Regions from separate parts of the Homo sapiens genome. Here regions 2, 3 and 4 are each linked to region 1. Evidence: promoter capture Hi-C in 16 types of primary human blood cells and fetal thymus (Javierre and others, 2016). All regions are on one chromosome and are shown on one strand. The core of a region is centred on a gene start or on the middle of the fragment in contact, and the rest is flanking DNA. Distances in the headings are between cores, read along the strand shown.

Region 1 (3,291 bases), core at 265-2,764:
CTGTGGTGGGAATCAGTAATCATAGGATTCCCAGGAAGATTCTGAAAAGCCCTTGGATATTGAAGGATTTGGGTTGCAGTTTTCTCAATCTGTTAGATGTTGAGGGGGGGCGGAGGAAATACACCTTTTTTTTTTCCCCACAATCCTAAAAGTTTATGAACTTTCAGAGAGACACAGGAGCCAACCTGAAAGAGTTCCCAGTGGTCAAAGCTGGAACCATTTGAGCAACAAAATTAATAATGTAGTATTGAATTCTAGCCCAAAGTATAAAATAAATATACATGGGTCCATACTGACATAACAAATACTGACATAAATGATTGAATAAACAAGAGAGATGGAACAAATCTTCCTTACAGAATCATTCTAAATAATAACATATAGATACTCCCTGCTCTGGGATGGAGTTTAATCTTGCCCTCATCTTGAGTGTCAGCTGAATTGAGTCATGCCATTCATGCCATTCAGAGTAGAGTGTATGGAAAGAGAAAAACAGCTTTGCAGTAGAGAAACCTGGCAGACACAACCTTAACTATGGGATCAAGGTCAAGTCACCAGTGATAAGTCACCTGGCCATCGTGCCATCGTCCCTGAGAGGATGCAGTGGGGAAGGCACTTCATCTCTGAGTCTTTCCTCCCCCCAGTCTCATCATGAGAAAAAAACAGTAGACAATACCCACATGAGTGGGTGTCGAGGTACCCCCACAAAACTATACCTTACCAGAATACTTCATCACAATACTTTACTAGAATTCTTTACAGCTGTCAAAGTCAAGAAAAGACAGAGAAACTGTCATGGATTAGAGGAGACAAAGGGCACAGGATGCTAAATGCAGTGTGGTATCCTGGCTGGGATCCTGAAAGGGAAAGGCGTTAGCCAAAAAGCTAGTGACAGCTACATCAAGTCTGGAGTAGTGTTAATAGTGGCAGATCAATGTTAATGTCTTTTAAAAAATATTTTTAGTAGAAATGAGGTCTCGCTATGTTGCCCAGGCTGGTCTCGAACTCCTGAGCTCAAGCGATCCTCCCGCCTGCCTTGGCCTCTCAAAATGCTGAGATTACCAAGGCGTGAGCCACCGCACCTGGCCCAATGTGAATTTCTTAGTTTTGACAAATGTGCCACAGTTATGGAAGCTGTAGGCATTAGGAGACACCGACTGAGGGGTATATAGACGACTCTCTCTACTATCTTTGCAACTTTTTTTAAGTTCCAAAAGAAAGTTTTTTAAAAAAACAACAAAATTGCACTTGTACTCCATAAATTTATACTAAAAACAATAAAATCAAAAATTATTTAAAAAACAAAAACAAAAGTTTATAAACTTAGGGTGCAAATAGAACCTTCTTGAAAAGCAGCGGCCGATCCCCTCCCCCCACCCGCCTGTACAGCACCCTAGCGAGGGGCGTGAGGGGCAGAGCCTGGCTCTCCAGCGCTGGGCGTACGCGTCCTGCCGCGACTCCTCCCCGGGGCCTCACCGGCGCCGGACTCTGCCCTGGGCGCGCCCCGCGGGGCGGAGCCAAGCCTGCGGGCGGTGGCGGCTGCACTCGCAGGGCCCTGGCAGCCGACCCTGGCCCCAAGGTCCGATCGCCCAGGGGAGGAGCAGCACCGGGACCCCGCGTCGGCTGGGCGCCCCACAAGGTAGGCGAGTCTGGCCACCTTCGGGCCCGGTCCCTGCGGCGCGCCCCCGCATCCCCTCCATGTGTGTGGGTGTCCAGGTGCCTTTCCAGCGGCTTCCCCAGTGGAGTTCCTGGCATCAAGGACATTTCCTGTAAAAGGGTCCTTGTTGAAGAGGTAATCCTCCCTGGAAACCTCGGTTCTGGGCTCGAATTTCCTGGGCGAGAAGTTTCTTCCCCATTGGGAAGAGCTGCTTTTCCGCAGAGAGGAACCCCTACTTAGTCCGGCGCACACCTGATTATTTATTTAGGTTGTTGTTATACAATCCGTTTGTCAGGGGTCCCCGCGATTTCTGCCTGCTAATTTCAGAGGCTATGGAGAAAAGTCCTGCGGTAAACGCCCTGACCTAGGAACTCCAGCGTGGTGGCTTTGACAGGTCACTGCGCTCGCATTTTTTAAAGAGCAGAGATGAATGAAGGTGGCTGTCTTCATTCATTTGTGCGGGCTTCTGCAGCCGCAGGTGTAGTAAAAAGAGCAGCCCATTGCTTGACCTTTTCCTTAATGTTGAGTAGCATCATGATATTTTAGATGTGGAAGTTACAGAGTGCTAGGCGGCTAGACAAAGGAACACTCTTATCTTACTGAAGGTTAGTACGGGACCGTGCAAGTGTAGTTTTTAGATTGGATGATAACATAGCTGTGAATTTTCAGCCTTTTTGGAAGTGAAGACAAAATTGAATATAAGGATCAGAACAAGCAACAAGCCCTGAACATAACTGAAGGTGTACCTGCTCCCCATTATATTCTGATTGTTTTATTTTAGGAATCAAAACCTCTTTTACTTTCTTGGTGTATATAGTTCGGATGAAGTGTCAGAATACAAAAAGGAATTATTCTGTGTTTGTGATAGGGAGGAGATAATCTGTTCTTTTGATTTTACCTAATGCCATTAAATATTCAGAGCTACTGAAGTCTGGTTTTCCTGATATGTGAGCTGGGCAGGAGTGTCAGGTACCCTGGCAGACACAATTGGTGCTGTTGTTATGCTTTTCCCCCGCTGCCCACTCTCTTCCCCACCCCACTCCCAATTTGAGAGGGAAGGCCCCTGACACAGAGGAATTTCTGCCCAAGGCAGGGAGTATCCCCGTGTGGTTCCTCAAATGTTTGCAGAAAGAATGAAAACAACTACACTTCTTGGGACCCAGGCCAACGTCATAAGGCCGACGTCATAAGAAGGTTCTTTCCTCTTGTTATTTACAAAATAAATTGATCCCTTGTCCTAACTAGAAAGAGACTTTTGAAATTAATACTGTTGCTATTTTGTGAATTACTGATAGGCATGTTATTTGTTAGCTTATTTGTTTACAGTATGCTCAACATTGAAGGTGAGTTGTAATCCAAATTTTGGCCAAAGCTAAAAAATGTAAGCTAGATTTAGACAAACCTGAAAAATGAGGTGTTTATTTGCTTGGAATAATGACTGAAAGGGGAAATAACTGAAGATTTTGATGGGAATGTAAAAGTCTTTTAAAATAGTAGTTTCTCATCTTTAGAACTGAGATATTTACATCAAAATTATATGGCTATTTATTGATTGAAAACATTTCATAATGGCAAAATTTTACCATGAATTTACTAACACGTTTAAATGAATGTCATTTACTAAGCACAAAAAC
Region 2 (3,291 bases), core at 568-3,067, 410 kb after region 1:
AAACAAGAGAAAGAAAATATACAAAAAAACAGACACACAGGAATAAAGGTACTGGAATTTCAGATATGACTTGAAAATCTTTATGATTAACATGTTCAGGAAATTAAAGATAAGGAGGTGAATTTGGCAGAAACATAAAACTATTTTAAAAATTTAAATTATAAAACTGAAAATAAAATAATATTAAGAATTCAATGGATGGCTTTGCAAACCAAAAATAAAATTTTAAGCTGCCCAACCATCTGAATAGACCTCTCCTCCTGGCAAAGGCATCCCAGAGTTAATCTGAAAAACTAGTTCAGGCCATGATGGGAAGGGGAGCAGCTAGACATGCCTCATTATAACCTCCTTCCTTTTGGAATGACTGAGAAGAGACTCTTTAAGTCATAAGAAACATTTACTCTCTGAAGCCTACTATCTGGAGGCTTTATCTACATGATAAATTCTTGGTCTCCACAATCCCTTATCACAACCCATGCATTCCTTTCTTTATTTTTCTTTTGAGACAGTGTCTTGCTCTGTTGCCCAGGCCGGAGTGCAGTGGTGCGATCTTGGCTCACTGCCACCTCTGCTCCTGGGTGCAAGGATTCTTCTGCCTCAGCCTCTTGAGTAGCTGGGATTTACAGGCCCCAGACCTTGTTATTCATAATAATTCTTTCAACAAATTGCCAATCAGAAAATCCTTCAATCTACCTGTGATCTGGAAGCCCCTGCTTTGAGTTGTCCAGCCCTTCTGGACCAAACCAATATACATCTTACATATGTTTATGGATGTCTCATGTCTCTCTAAAATGTATAAAACCAAGCTCTACCCTCATCACCTTGGGCACATGTCATCACGACCTCCTGAGGCTGTGTCACAAGCTCATCCTTAATCTTGGCAAAATAAACTTTCTAAACTGATTGAGACCTGTCTCAGATACTTTTGGTTTACAAATTGGCAACCTCAAAGGGATTCTGAGCAGAGGTGCTCCTGACCTTTGACAAATTTCCTGTCAGTGCCTGGCACCAGCTTGAGCTATCTTTATTGCTCAAAACAACAGGACAATTTTCTGGAGCCTGGGAGCTCCCTTCTCCATAGAATCCCCAATCTCCCAAAATCTGGTTGAGATTTAAAGTTTATTTAGCTGTACAGCTCCTTTTCTGGAGTTTTACTCACTTCCAACAAGGAAGGCGCTTGTTCCTGCTTCCATGGCAATAGAGAGGAGGCAACTGCTTTCTGGAGTTTCAGCTCACTTCCAATAGGGAAGGTGAATTTGAGGGTTTTTTTCCCCCCTGCTGCTAGGATGGTAGATAGCAGTCTTGAACCTGGGCCCCATTCCTGGGTAAGTAGCTGAATTGGGATTTTGTCTTGAAAATTCTCCTAAATAACTAAAAGTTAAAATTGACAACCAACTGCTCTTAATTTCTCCTTAACATTAGAGCACTAAGTAATCATTGTTTGTTTTTTTGTTTTGCTTGCTGTTGTTCTGGTCTTCCTTTGGATTTGACTGGCTCTACCCAACTTGGTCAAATCTGATTAGGAATTCCAAATTATGGAGAACAAGGCCTTTGAATTGGCTAAAATTCCTTGCAACTGAAAAATAAAAACATCCAGTTGGTTTCTCTGTTCACTTCCTTTCTTGAAAAAAAATTGTTCTTTCATTTACTTTTCTTCTGCCCTATTCCTCCTTCACTCTTGGCCATCTTCAGTATCAAGTGAAAAAAAAAATCTAGATAAGGCTTCTAATGACTCAGGTTCCTTAAAGAACTCAGAATAGGCTGGGCGTGGTGGCTCACGCCTGTAATCCCAACACTTTGGGAGGCCGAGGCAGGTGGATCACAAGGTCAGGAGATTGAGACCGTCCTGGCTAACACAGTGAAACCCCATCTCTACTAAAAATACAAAAAATTAGCCAGGCATGGTGGCGGGTACCTGTATTCCCAGCTAAACGGGAAGCTGAGGCAGGAGAACAGCGCGAACCCAGGAGGCACAGCTTGCAGTGAGCCGAGATAGCACCACTGCACTCTAGCCTGGGCAAATGAGTGAGACTCCATATCAAAAAAAAAAAGGAGAACTCAGAATAAAGGTGCCGCTCACCCCTTTGGGGCATGTTCAGTTTTCTTTGTGGAGTTTCAAGAGTCATGGGCAGATTCTTCTTAGGTCTACAGCCCTGCTTTCTTGTATTGCATTAACTGACCTCTTTGGCTTTGTGGGGGTATCAGAGGCTACCTCGTATTGTGAGAAGATTTGACCTTGGTGTGTGTAAAGGAGGACAAGAACTACAACATTAGGGGTGGCTGAGGACAGTTTATAGAAAGTGGTCTTAGCTGGGTTTTTTCCCTCCTAAGAAATTGTTGTTGAAAATCCTAAGTCGAGTTTGGTGGTGCATTCTAAAGGGTCTTCTCCATTGCCTTGTCTCTCAAAATTAATCTCGATTGGTATGTCTGTACATTTGTGTGAGGAACTGAACTGTCATTCTTGTAGATACATGAGAAACTGAGTTCCTCAGCTCTAAAGAGAAAGGGGCTTTTGCTCCTCCCAGCCAAAAGGTGCCCCTGGGTGACCAAGTGGGCCCGAGTGGGATTGTCCAGGGAGCTGACCTCCCTGCAAAGTGCAGTGGCCCTACAGGGAAACTCCACCAAAATTAAAAAGGCTTGTCCAGGAAGCACATATAAGAGCTGGTCACTCTATACTTAGAACCTCTTAAAGGTGCTAGCCCTTCGGAGAGAGAAAGAGGGAAGAAATGACACAATAGTGACACACTGTGGAGTTCTACTCAATCAGCACACTTCTCTCCACTACACTAAACCCTAGGCTACAGCTCAGTTTCTCCTTGTAAGAAAAAAATGTGGGAAACATACCATCTCAGAATGAGGAAAGACAAGGAGAAGGACCCCCTTTTGGGCACCTCATTGGTTTTATGGAGCTTCTACTTGCAAGTATTTGTGTAAAATGGAAAAGGTTGAGGGCATGCCAGGTTCTGTAGTACTCCAGCTGGTTGCATATTATGGTCATTTTGTGCACATTTTAAACTGATGGACAAATTACATCAAGGAAAAATTCAGAGCCCAGGGGTTGACCTGCAACTAAAGAGTTCCTAAGTTGTCTATTTCTTTATTTTCTTTTCTGCCTGCTTTAAATCCGCTGTTACTGTTCTACTGAGATAAAACCCACTATTTGAATGCAACTTTTAATTTTTGTTATTGTTTTTGTAAACCAGTGAGTTTGTATTAGTATCCCATGCCTAGAGCTCTAAAGTAAAAGCTATAGGATCTTAGTTTGTATGAGCATGTATGTGTGTGTTTAAT
Region 3 (3,291 bases), core at 376-2,875, 280 kb after region 1:
GAGGTTTCACCATGTCGGCCAGGCTGGTCTCGAACTCCTGACCTCATGATCTGCCTGCCTCTGCCTCCCAGAGTGCTGGGATTACAGACATGAGCCACCACACCAGGCCTATATTTTTTGATTAAAAGAATGTATGAGGCCAGGTACGGTGGCTCATGCCTGTAATCCCAGCACTTTGGGATACCAAGGTGGGTGGATCACTTGAGGTCAGGAGTTTGAGACCAGCATGGCCAACATAGTGAAACTCTGTCTCTACTAAAAATACAAAAAATTAGTTGGGCATGTGGTGCATGCCAGTAGTCCCAGTTACTTGGGAGGGTGAGGCAGGAGAATCACTTGAACCTGGGAGGTGCAGGTTGCAGGTTTCAGTCAGCCAAGATGGACCACTGCACTCCAGCCTGGGAGACAGAGCAAGACTTTGTCTCAAAAAAAAAAAAAAAAAGCTTTCTGTACATTGCTTAGAGGGTGAGGCTGTTGACTGTGGATTTTACCATTAGATGATCAGAAAGAAAACCCCTAGTGTCTGTAACTATGGATCTTTTCTTTTGGGCAACTCAGAAAATTAAACTCTCCTATCCTGGTGTAAGGTATAAGGTATGGATGCAGCTTCCCCCCTCCCCAGATTGCTGTTAAATAGAGATGCTGTTTATTAAGTATAGTTCACATTTTGCTTATTGGTATAAGATCCCATCTTTATTACTGAACTCTTATATTGAGGGGAGGGAATCTCTTTCTAGATTGTATATGCTTTCGCATGGGTCTCTGTCTGCCAGTACCACACTGTTTTAATTATTAGTTCTTGATAGTATGTTTTATTACCTGGTTTATTACTCTTGATTGCTCTACTTTTTCAGAATGTATAAAAAACATTTGGACATTTGACACTTAGAGGAAATAAGGCCCTTTCCCAGAGTAACTCAGATAATAAGTGGCAGAACTGTCATTGGAACCTCTCTCATAATCACCACCTTTCATTGACTGAAATGCCTTTGTTAAAATATCTACTTATCTCCTTTGGAAAAAAATTCAGAGGAAGAGATATTTCTTCCTCTTTCAAATGCCTCAAAACTCAAATTTCCTTTGGGAACCCCTGAGGACCTAGGTCATGTGTCCACTGAGGCTCATGGCCAACTCTCTAGGAATAGCTGGAAGGTGGAGAAACATAGCGGGAAAGAGAGCTCATGTCTCCACATCCAATGAGCAAAGCTAGTAGCAGAGTCTGCTGATACTTTACTTTTTAGTGTATATTTCAGGAAGTGTTCTTACAGGCATGTTCCTTTTCTAGTGGGGTCACAAATACCAAATAGTTATGTCTTCTTAAAAAGTCATTAATTTTCAGAAAATTTGTCTAAACCTAGTAATAAAAATATATCACTTTTATTTCAATTTCTATATATTTAACTATGAGGTCAAGTATCTTACCCTCTGTTTTTATTCATTACATAGACTTCTTCTGTGACAAGCACATCAATGTCCTTTGTTACTCTTTCTTAGTGTGTGCCTATAAAAATCTTATTAATTTGTAAGTACTCATTATATGTAAGCAATATTTAAAATTTTTTTCTATGTGTTGAAAATATTTTTTTCCCGGTTTGTTGTTGACTTTGGTTTATTGTGTCTTTTCCATGTGAAAATGGAAAGACTTTCATGGATTAACATTTACTAATATTTATCTTTATAAGTCTTAGTTTTGGTATGAGAGATACAGTATGCGTGTATAAATAGGAATTCAATTTTGTCTCTAATTTTTAATGAAGTAGCATAACATAATATGCTAGGTGTATTTTTTTAAATTTAGATCTCTCTCAAAATACTTGTTATACACCATATCAGTTAAAGTACTTAGAAACTGCTCATCATATTTCACTTTAGTTCTTTCCTTGAATGTATACCTAGGTGAATTCTGGCAGAGATAAATTTGGGGCAGAGCCTAGGATCTAAAGAATGTGAAAAAAGTTCCCTATGTCCGAAGGGAAAATCAGCAAAAGGTAAAAGCAAACAAAAAAATGAAGTGTAGGAATAGAGGATTTAAAATGTTATCCTCTTTTGCTTTCTCAGATGGCCTTGTTTGTGTGAAGCACAAAAGCAGCCCCTGTGTGTGACTAATGAATCTTCCAAGGCATTCTGGGGACTGTGTTGTCAGCCCTTTTAATGGCCTATTAAGCACAGGATTGAATAGATTAAGCATGCAGCCGTCCAAATTAGACCTTGAGTAATCTGACTGACCATGTTAGGCCTTGTGTGACACAGCATCCCTTAGGCTGATGTTAAGGACTCAGACAAGGTGAGAAAAGTCTGTGCTCTAGAAACACAGTCCTTCCCAGGACAAAATAAGCCAACAAATATGGAAGGCAAAGTTTAGTTGGATGGAGAGTGTCATAGAACAAGTACTTCACTCAAAGCTCAATTCTGCTTGTTAATAACAATGTGACCTTGGACAAGTTATTTTTCTTTTCTTTTTTTTCTTTTTTTTTTTGAGACAGAGTTTCACTCTTTCACCCAGGCTGGATTGCAATGGCACAATCTTGGTTCACTGCAACCTCTGCCTCCCGGGTTCAAGTGATTCATAAATTACCCAGACTCAGGTAGTTCCTTTCAGCAATGAGAGAATGGACTAATACAGGCTCCTTCATGAGCTTCTCTTCCTGTCTCCTTTTCATGTTTCATAATCTCGAGGCCTCGCCATTCTCTTATCCATTCAAAATTACTTTTGAGTGCTTACTTTGTGTAAGACACTATGCCATGGGCTACTAGACTAGTACACTGTTGAATAAAACATGTGTTTTGCTCTTAAAAAAAAAGCTTATAGGTTAATTAGAGAGAAGATAATAAAAGTTAATATTTATTGGGCAATTATTCTGTGCTAGATGCTTAATTCTCATTAATTCCCACAGCTACTCTGAGGGCTACATTCTCTCTTTATCCCCATTTTACAGGTGAGACAAAGTCAGGCAACATGTCCAAAGTCACATAACCTGCAAGTGTCTGAGCAAAGATTCAAACCCAAATATCTATGAATTCAGAGCCCAAGTTTTTTAATCAGACTTAAACACTATGCTATATTAAAAAGTAATTATACTGTGGTATAATATAACTAGAATGTGGTGAATGACATATGAAGTACGAACAGATTTGCATGGACATTTAGAGGAAGGAGTGGCCACTTTTGGCTGCAAGAATCAGAGAAGACATGGTGTAGGAGAGATTGGAGATGTATCTTTAAAAGCCATATTAGTCTATGCTCTGCCAAGATTATTATTATTTTCAGCAGAAATGCTTTCAAGTGAGACT
Region 4 (3,291 bases), core at 480-2,979, 270 kb after region 1:
AGAGAGAAATAGAGAGAGACTAACTTCCTGTATTGAAAGAATTTAACATTATAGGGATAAGTTTCACTAAATTCATCTATAAACATAAGGCCAATGAATATGACATTACCAAAAGTATTTTTATGAGAATTAAAAGCTGATTTGGAAAAGAATAATTAGCTTTCCCTTGCTAATTCTCTATTAAATATCAAACCACACCATAAAACTAGAATAACTTGTAAAAGTGTGGCATTGATGCATAATCTACAAATTTCACAGTGGAACAACTCAGCATGAAAAGAAAGATATATATGAAAACATAATATGGAAATATTATTTATGACAAAGGTAGAATTTAAAATCAGTAGAAAAATGACAGACTAAGGAATAGTGTGGGTACAATTGGCTATCCATTTAGGGAAAAGATATCAGATATCTATGTCATACCAGGCACAAAAATAAATCCAAATAGATTAAGTAAATAAAAACCTAGAAATGAATACAAAGAAACTATAATGGATTATCTTTATAATCTAAAGAGTTTTTCTAAGCAATACACTAAACACAGAAACTGTAAGATTGATAAATAAAAATTTTAAATACATACAAATTTAAATGAAAACTATAAATCAGAGCAAAGATTGACCTCCATAATTAATACAGAACAGTATCAAATTAAAGAAAGTAAAAACAGGTCACCTAATAGAAAAATGGTCAAATTACATGAACAGCAAATTTTCAAAAGAGGAGGTAATAAGATAAATTAAAAGATGCTCAACCTCATTATAAATCTGGGCCATTCTAACTGAAATGAACTAAAATCATGTTTTGTGTATCACACTGTCCAAAATTCAAAAGATTAATTACATTTTTAAGTAACAAGAGAGTGAGATTAATTATGTTTTTAAGTAACAAGAGAATGGGGATACTCACTCTCATACTTTATTTGTGGCACCCTAGTGACACTCCAGAAGGTTTCTCCTGTTTCCTTCCAAAGAGAAACACTCTCCACCCCTCCCCACTACGGGAGGTAATCATTATCCTGACACCTACAACTAATATTATTTTTGCCTATGTTGTTATTTTATATAAAAGGAATCATATACTGTAATTTTTTTGTACCTGGCTCCTTTGCTCAATATTATGATTTTGAGTCACTATTATTGCAGTTTCAGATTTTTCAGTCTCATTGCTTTCTACTAGATGTGCATACCAGAATGTATTGTCCACTCTATTGTTGATGGTCATTTGGGTAGAGCTGCACTGATCACTCTTCTACGTCTTTTGGTGAGTGAACATAGGTATACGTTTCTGCTAGGGAAACACCCAGAAGTGGACCTACTGGCTACAAGCTTTTCATGTATTCTTCTTGAGAAAGATGTTGCCAAGCATGTTTCAAAAGTGGTTTTTGTCAATTTCCACTTCTACTTGTGGTGGATGGAGTTCAGTTTACTCTACATTCTTGCTGACACTCGGTATTATCTGCCTTTTTCCTTTGCCCGTTTTGGTGGTTACTTGATGGCATCCTGTGGTTTAGCTTGCATTTAAAAAAAATAACTAATAAAGTTGAGCACCTTTTTACAGATTTAAAGGACATTTAAATATCCTCTTTTATGGAGTATCTGTTCAAGTCTTTTGTCCATGTTTCTATCAGGGTTTTTTGTTTTTATTTATATTTTTTCAAATATATATATACATACACATATATATTATATATTATATATACCTATATATTATAAGCAATATATAAACATATCAACATATATATATATATATAAAAATCTGCTTTCATTTTTTGGGTTGCTTTTCCTAACTTTTTAAAGATATTGTTTGGAGAAGTTTTTTTATTTTAATGTAATTCATTTATCTTTTTTTCTTTCATGCTTAATGCTTTTGGTGCCCTGATTAAGAAACCTGTCGACTCCAAGGTGACAAAGATGTTCTATGATGTTTTGTCTTATCTAATCTTTGAAAAGCAATACAAATATAAAAGATTAGTAAAATGTCAGATGTAGTAAAATGGTAAAAACACCAGAAAATGAGAACATTAACCATCTATAAAATTTCATCAGGAAAGTCAGTGCTTTCTTACGACATGATATTACCAGGAGGAGATTTATCACTCCCAGCTAACATTATAAAGCTTAATTCCACTTCAACATTTATAAATGAAATCCATCATCACTTGACTATAAGACTGATAACTACAGTGAATAGGCATACACAGAAGGCATAGGTGAATGCATTGGAAAAATAATAGCTTAGAGTATCTTCAGATTAGCATTCATTATCCTGACAACTAAAGAAAGAGACATGCCCATCACTGTACAGAATACAAAAACAGGACTTAAAAGATACAATCTGCCTTCAGTGTTAAATTGAAAATGGTTATTGGATTTAGCCAGCACAAACTGGAAAGCTCATTCTCTATCTTACTTTAAATGCTCTTTATTTTCTCTCTTTAAAAAATAAATTTCCTTTTCCTCATTTTCTTGCATTAGCAAAAGGAATATGCTAAAGATGAACTTTACTGAATGAAATCAAGGTTGTTTTTTTTCTTGTTCTCTTCGTTCTTTTCTTCCTAATACTTCGTGATATTTTTGTTTAGAGTTTCACAGATTTATAGAGCTCAAAGAGATTGTAAAATTTTACCCTATCCATCCTTCAAAAACATCTAAGCCATATGAAAACCAACCCTGTCGGTATGACAATTTGCCAAGCCTTCAGCTATAGGGAACATAATCATCTGGTTCTGTTTTTATTTTGACTAAATAAAATGTGAAGACTATAAACAGTACTTAAAAATCACTGAAATAAACTAGGAAAATTGATTCATTCTATGTCAGTTTTTTTAATAATTCTTTTTACTACTCAATGTATTAAATTATGATTGTAAAGTGTTAAAAGATTAAATATGTTTAGTGTCTTAATGAAGAAAGTGGGTTACATTATTCTCCTAAGGGTTTGGAAAGAAATTATATTGAGTTGCTTGATTTCCTATGTATAATATTTCTTGTATTTATCTTCCTTTTTTAAAAAAAAAACACTTTTCCACTTATTTGCTATTGAAATAGCTCCTAACTATTCTTTCCTTTAGTCTCCTAAACCTCCAATCTACCCTATGTATTTTCAACTTCCTCTTAATGTACCCATTTTTTGTGTTGTTTCCTTTTGCTCATTAACCATCAGTGGCTCCCCATTATTGGGGAGCTAAAACTTTAAATGTCACAATCTGGCATCTAAGGTCTTTTAAAAAATGGTGTGAACCTACTTTCCTAACCAATGCTTATAACATTCCTTTACACAAAACCT

The links. Contacts are between HindIII fragments. The CHiCAGO score rates a contact against its expected background, and 5 or more counts as called.
Region 2: a contact is called between a fragment that was not itself captured here and the fragment with the promoter of CCDC68 in region 1, in 4 of 17 cell types (erythroblasts, activated CD4 T cells, total CD4 T cells and 1 more). The highest score is 6.7, in erythroblasts.
Region 3: a contact is called between a fragment that was not itself captured here and the fragment with the promoter of CCDC68 in region 1, in 7 of 17 cell types (megakaryocytes, erythroblasts, total CD4 T cells and 4 more). The highest score is 11.7, in megakaryocytes.
Region 4: a fragment that was not itself captured here is called in contact with the fragment with the promoter of CCDC68 in region 1 in 2 of 17 cell types (megakaryocytes and erythroblasts); the score reaches 8.9 in megakaryocytes.

What each region holds. Positions count from the first base shown.
Region 1 is chr18:54,957,684-54,960,974 of GRCh38, reverse strand. CCDC68 (coiled-coil domain containing 68) reads left to right here and starts at 1,514. Exons shown (of 12, transcript NM_025214.3): 1 at 1,514-1,639. The HindIII fragment of the contact is 7,607 bases long and covers 1-3,291 here.
Region 2 is chr18:54,552,717-54,556,007 of GRCh38, reverse strand. No RefSeq gene overlaps it. Among named protein-coding and RNA genes, the nearest start is that of DYNAP, 37 kb to the left of the region's middle. The HindIII fragment of the contact is 5,208 bases long and covers 1-3,291 here.
Region 3 is chr18:54,674,169-54,677,459 of GRCh38, reverse strand. No RefSeq gene overlaps it. Among named protein-coding and RNA genes, the nearest start is that of DYNAP, 85 kb to the right of the region's middle. The HindIII fragment of the contact is 2,359 bases long and covers 446-2,804 here.
Region 4 is chr18:54,691,640-54,694,930 of GRCh38, reverse strand. No RefSeq gene overlaps it. Among named protein-coding and RNA genes, the nearest start is that of DYNAP, 100 kb to the right of the region's middle. The HindIII fragment of the contact is 791 bases long and covers 1,334-2,124 here.